Regions from separate parts of the Homo sapiens genome. Here region 2 is linked to region 1. The links are contacts of gene promoters, found by promoter capture Hi-C in blood cells and fetal thymus (Javierre and others, 2016). All regions are on one chromosome and are shown on one strand. Each heading gives the region's core, a stretch centred on a gene start or on the middle of the fragment in contact. The rest is flanking DNA. Distances are from core to core; before and after follow the strand shown.

Evidence for each region. Contacts are between HindIII fragments. The CHiCAGO score rates a contact against its expected background, and 5 or more counts as called.
Region 2: a fragment that was not itself captured here is called in contact with the fragment with the promoter of GRIA4 in region 1 in 2 of 17 cell types (monocytes and M2 macrophages); the score reaches 6.4 in monocytes.

What each region holds. Positions count from the first base shown.
Region 1 is chr11:105,608,325-105,611,538 of GRCh38, reverse strand. It overlaps GRIA4 (glutamate ionotropic receptor AMPA type subunit 4), which reads right to left and starts at 1,466. Exons shown (of 17, transcript NM_000829.4): 1 at 1,111-1,466; 2 at 454-631. The coding sequence starts at 541. RefSeq lists a silencer at 290-490. The HindIII fragment of the contact is 4,294 bases long and covers 1-3,214 here.
Region 2 is chr11:104,663,403-104,666,616 of GRCh38, reverse strand. No RefSeq gene overlaps it. Among named protein-coding and RNA genes, the nearest start is that of LINC02552, 56 kb to the right of the region's middle. The HindIII fragment of the contact is 942 bases long and covers 1,292-2,233 here.

The sequences.
Region 1 (3,214 bases), core at 217-2,716:
TGTCTTTTTCCTCAAACAGTGTCTTTCTGTAATAGCAAGAAAGCTGCGGCGTCCAGAATGGGAAGAAGTGGATTTTTTTTTTCTTTTTTAAACAAACTCGACATCACTTTATGCTTTAGAGAAAGGGATGGAAATAAATATCATATAAAATACAACCAAATTCCCCGAAGACTTTCCCCCAACTTATTTCAATCCTACTTAAGCGACTATAGGTAAAGGTGGAAATAGGGCTATGGGCTGAGAACGCATGGGTGGGCTGCCCTGGGTGTATTCCAACGGAACCTGCACTAAAGAGGAAGTCTTTTTGCAAAGGAGAGAAAGGAAGAGGAGGGAAACAGAGGGGAAGGGAACTGCTGAAGGTTTCCCTGAATTGCTTATCAGCAACTCATTTAACTCACTTTCGGATATCTGCTACAACCAGCCACATGCACACCCCATCGGAGCACACCTTACCTATTTGCACGCTGCTCGGAAAGGCTCCCATGGCGAGTCCCCAAAATCCAGAAAATAACAAGACAATCTGTCTGGAAATAATCCTCATCTTCTTTTCTCCTCTCCCTGGCGCGCGCTCTCTCTCTTTCTCTCGCACTCTTCCTAAAGGCTGTTCAGAGAAGCATTGAAGACGATGGCGCTAAAATTAAAATCAACCAAAAAAAAAAAAAAAAAAAGAAAAGAAAGAAAAGAAAGAAAAAAAAGGAAAGAGGTTTCGGTGGTTTAAGATTATGACTAGTTCTCCTTAGCAATCCATCGCGAGCCGCCAGATTTTTCCCGCAGTCTCCATAGCCCTGGGAGAGGTTTTCTGTCCGGCTGCAAATGTTGCACATGCAAAAGATGGTGGTGGAGCGTCTAGTGGCTGCTCGCAGGGATGAGACATGCGCTCTATCTTTGCCTCACTCGCACTCGCGCTCGCCCCTTGCTTTCTCACATACACACAAACACTGGCGCCGCGGCCGCCACACGCGCTCTCCAGCTCGCATCAGCCGACATCCCCCAGCAAGCCTGCACCAGCCCGGAGCATCGCTGCCCTCCTGGCGTCCCCTCCTCGAGCGCGCACTCCCTCCGCACGCCCCTCGCCCACCGCTCGGCTGGCTTCACCCCCTGGGTGCTCACCGGAGCGCCCCAGTCTCCCGGACGCTCCGGAGCCAGTCTGGTGTCAGGTTTTCCCTTCTGACCACTCGCTGACTCCCTCCTCTTTTCTTCCTCGGTTCGCAGAGGGACCGACTCTGGGGATGGGCACCCCCAGCGCCCCTCTCTTGGTTTTCCTGGCACCTCTGCTTCTCGGCTGCGCTAGGCAGAAAATCCGCCCACGGGCCAGGTCTGCAAGCCCCAATCGGGGGCTCCGGGGGGTTAGTACCTCCCCATGCCCCCAGGCCCCTGCCGCATCCTTGCAGGTTCGTGAGGAGGACGGGCTGCCTCCCTCTCCTACAGTCCTGGCTTCCCTCTCAGCCTAGCCCTCTTCTGCCACTGGGCTGCGCGCGGGGGACTCCGGTCCTCGCTGCAGCAAAGATTTCTCACCAGCAAACAGCCCGGGAATCTGGAGAGCCTGACAAGGGAATGGATGAGGTGAAAGGGTTCAGAGAGGGATGGGAGGAGAAAAGACAGGCAAAGGGCAGCCCCTGGCGGGTTTAAGAGGCCAGGACCAGGATGAAAGAATTGGAGGAGGTAAGGATGGGGAAGAGAGCCAGAGAAGTTGAAACATCCTGGGAAGGGGAGGAGGGGGTAAAAGGTTATTTTAAATAACTGACGAAGTTTAGGGTACTGAACGGGATGGGGAAAAGACTGAGAAATGAAAATTGAAAGAGGCCTCTAACATTCTCTTGGAAAGGCATGAAGCAGGGATAGGAATAAGAACTGCGTGAAGTGTAAAGTAGGAAAAGTGATTAAAGATTCGATTGCTTTCTATACAGTCACCCATTCCGGAGGACTCTTTCCTTCTGTGCTGTGGCCCATTGCAGGAGCAGGAGGGACACAGCGCAAAGGCTGATGAAGGACCAGAGGGGCAGTGCTTGGGGCAGTGGGCACAGGTGTCTGACAGGAAGATAGTGTTTCGTGCACATCTCCTCTTGTCTGGGACTCTGGAATGCTCACTCTGCTCCACGCCACCTCCAGGTAGACTTAAGCACTTCAGTGATGATGTCAATAGTTGTTTTGACTGGGTAGAAGTGAAAATGAATTATCCTAGAAAGTTTTGGGGTTACAGTCTCACTTGCTCTCCAGAGTCACCTTTAAGATTGTCCTTTCATCTGCCTGTCCTGGACTGAGCTTGAACCACACTCAGAAGCAGTCACTGTGGTAGCCGTGAGTGACCGGTTTCTGATTTCCTCTGTATGGTTTGAGATTTCCTGATCTAGTTAGTAAATACAATCTCCTGTTCCAATAAGCTGTGTGAGAGAATCATTAGAAGGAGAGGTTCTCCTTAAACGTTAGGGAACCTAGGGTGATGTCTGCCATTAAATTTTTAAAAAGAATATAGCAAATGCCTAGGTTTGCCTGATATAATATTTGAGACTACAATGCTTAAAGTGGAATTCTTGCAAGGGACTTACAGAAAGCCTGGTAACGGCTTTTTGAAATATACATTACCTTAACTCTTTCAAAATACTTTATTTGGTGTCACTGATTACCTGTATTTGTAGTTTGTAGATGACATTTTAAAATCCCTGCTAAAACTTGAGTGCTTTTCTATTTCCTAAGTTTTGAATTTTATTTTTAAAATTGCATCTTTAAAATAAGTGTCTGCTTTCCCGTTACATTTCACCACAGATTGTTATGAAAAAAAAAACCTAATTGTAACTGTATTTTACAAATCATACATTTGTCATTTTAGTTTGTGAAGTTTTAGTCTTGCAAGTCAAGTGAAATTTGAAGCATTTTTCCTTTTTTTATTTTTCTGTGTTAAAAAACAAGGCTGTGAATAATAGCATTCTGTTTTCTCTTGAAAAAGGATAATAGAGTATGACACATAAAATTCAAGTTAAATTAAAATTTCAAAATCCACCAAACTGTTAAACTCATCACTTGCTTGGGTAACTAGTGAAGCTCTTCCTGATCCAGAGGCAATTATTAACTTTAATTCTTCTCAAAATTGAAAGATTTCAGTTTTCATATGATGTAATAGCATCATTGATATAGATGCAGGACAAGTTTTTTTTCCCCACTTAACTGTCATGATAACACCTGGACTAATATAACCACAGATGACACAACTATATTT
Region 2 (3,214 bases), core at 513-3,012, 950 kb after region 1:
AATACAGCTTATTTTTGAGAAAATTTATAGGTCTACAGAAAAATGGAGCAGAAAGCACAAAATTTTTATAACCTCCCACCCCACGACATACACACAGTTTCCCCTACTATTGATATATTGCATTACTGTGGTGCATTTGTTATAAGTGATTAAGCAATATTGATACATTTTATTAAATAAGTTCTATAGTTTTCATTAGAAGTCACTAGTGATGTACATTCTATGGGTTTTGACAAATGTATAATGACATGTATCCACCCTTATAATACCACAGAGAATAATTTCACTCTCCCTCTAATGCTCTGTGTTCCACCTATTTATTTCTGCCTCCTTCTCTCCCTGTACCCCCACACACCAGGCAATCACTTTTTTATTTTATTTTTTTACTGTCTCTATACAGTTTTCTCTTTCCCAGAATATCACATAGTTACAATCATATAGTATGTAGAGCTTTCACATTGCCTTCTTTCACTTGGTAATAGACACTTACGTTTTATCTATGTCCTTCTATGGCTTGATAACTCCTTTCTCTTTAGTGCTAAATAATAGTCCATTGCCTGTATATATAACAGGCTATTTATTCATTCACTTATTGAAAGACAGCTTGGTTGCTTCCATTTTTTTGGCAATTATAAATACAGCTGCTATAAATGTTCATATGCAGGTCACTGTGTGGGCATAAATTTTAAGTCATTTGGGTAAATATCACAGAGTGAATTGCTGGATCATGTGGTAAAACTCTGTTTAGCTTTGTAAGAAACTGCCAAACTGTCTTCCAAAGCAGCTGTACTATTTTGCAATCACCAGCAATGAGTAGAATTTCCTTTCGCGCTTCCTTCTTGTCAGTATTTGGTGTTGTCAGTGTTCTGAATTTAAGTCATTTTAATAGGTGTGTAGAGGTGTCTCGTTGTTTGAATTTTCAGTTTCCTAATGGCATATAATGTGGAACATCTATTTATCTTTGTTTTGCTTGCCATCTGCTTATCTTCTTTGATGAGATGTCTCTTCAGATCTTTTGCCCATTTATTTATTGGGTTGTTTGCTTACTATTGTTGAATTTTAAGACTTCTTTGTACATTTTGGATAATAGTCCTTTTTCAGGTATGTGTTTTGCAAATATTTTCTCTCATCCTGTGGCTTCTTTTTTTAAATCTCTCAATTCATTGACTTGTCACTCAGGAAAAGCACTAGCCTTTAAGTGAAACATCAAAAGTGAAAAATATATTGAACGTGTCAGGCACTGTGCAAAAAACATAATGGTGAATGAGACAATCCTTTTATTCAAGAAGCTTAGTAAACAAAGAAAGAGATAGAAAAAAAAAGATGATTAATCCATAATGTGTGTTACAACAAGGATGATAAAGAGGGTATATTCAAGGTGCACATAACAGCCCATGGAGAATCAGGCAAGTCTTCCTGGAGGAGGTGCCTTCAGATCTGAAATTTAAAATATGTTTAATAATGGGTAAGGAGTAGACTTTGCAGAAAATGCATGTGTTATGAGGCAAGACATTAAAAAGAGAAACAGCATGGTTTGGAAAGGGTACCACTAGCCTTTTGGTATTTGAGTCAGGGAATGATGAGCAACGAGATTGGAGGGCTGAGATGGAAATAGATAGTGGGGACCCTCATATTCCCAATTAGAGAGATTGATCTGCATCCAAGAGGTGTCTTGGAGTATTTAGAGAAAATTAAACACTAAGTAAAATTGTGAATTCTCCTATCAAGAAAGAAAGGCAGAGAGAATAAAGCATAGATCATCCCTTCCTCTGTTTATGTTGCTATGCAAGAAAGCCTAAATCTGGGTAATTTATAACGAAAAGAGGTTTATTTGGCTCATGATTCTGCTGACTATACAGGAACCACGGCACCAGCACCTGCTTCTGATGAGGGTCTCCGACTGCTTCTGTTCATGGCACAAGGTGAAGGACAGCCAGTGTGTAAAGAGCACATGGCAAGAGAGAGGAAAAGTGGGGATCCACCCCCACGACCCAAACACCTTTCACCAGGACCCATCTCCAACTTTGGGGAACAAATTTTAATGTGAGATTTGGTGGAGACAAATGTTCAAACCATACCAGATAACTCACAACATCTGCCACTATGCTTCTGTTAAGGAAAAAGGTAAGATTAAAAAAAATAGTTTGTGTCTTAAGGAATATGTGTAAGTTCACCAGCAAAGCATGGATGCCTAATCTGGTAAACAATAATAGAAGGAAACGAAAAGTAAGCTTTCATATGCAACTGAAAACTTGAGGAAAAGGCAACAAATTTAGTTCAGTAAAAGGATGGGTTTTCCTCTCTAGCTTTGTGAAAAAAGCCTACTGGTTAATTAGTACAAACGTATTCATTTTAATATCCAGCTCTGTCCATGATTTGAATATACAATGATCATAGTAGCAATTCTTCTTTCCTTATCATTTTATATTATTTTACAAAGCTCAAAGTTAACGTCAGAGGATATTTCTTCAGGACTCCACAATAGTTAAAATGGAAGAGATAAATTTGCATTTAAAAATTTCAGACGTTTCTGCCAAAGTTCACCTTCACTGAGTAGCTCATTTACCTCAAGACTTTATTTAAAGGCAATTGTGCCTGAGAGCATCAGAAATTGTAATGTGGTCTCATTAAAAACCTCAGCACAGCTAAACTCCCATGGAGGATGGAGGAAACTGGAAGAGGCATTCCTTTTATTCTGACCACAGGTAAACAAAAAATTTCACAAGTTTTCATGAACCCATCAGAAAACTGATGTTACATGACAATCAAATAGACTAAAATCTGATGAGATAGGAGTTCCCTGGATGAGACAGGACATGAACCCAGGATTACTTGGCAGAACACTAGAGAAAGACATGCCAGTTGGGCAACAAACCAGTAAGGATTCAGCTCCATGTTCCCCAGATTCCTAAAGGGCAGGAAGAGGCTCATTAAGAGCATGATGTCACATCATCATGTGGCTCTCTGGGAGCCACAGACACAGGGGTACTTTACTCACATTCACAAGCTCTTCTTCATGAACCTCCACTGGGTGCTCGCCAAAACGACTGGGACCAGGCAAAAAGGCTCTGGTGGTACATGCCTAGTAAGGCAGTTTCTTACAAAGTTAAACATATACCTGAACTACAATTGAGCAATCCAACTTCTCTAAGTATTTACCCAAGAGAAAGAAACACTTTTATTCACACACTATCTTATATGCAAATCTTTATAG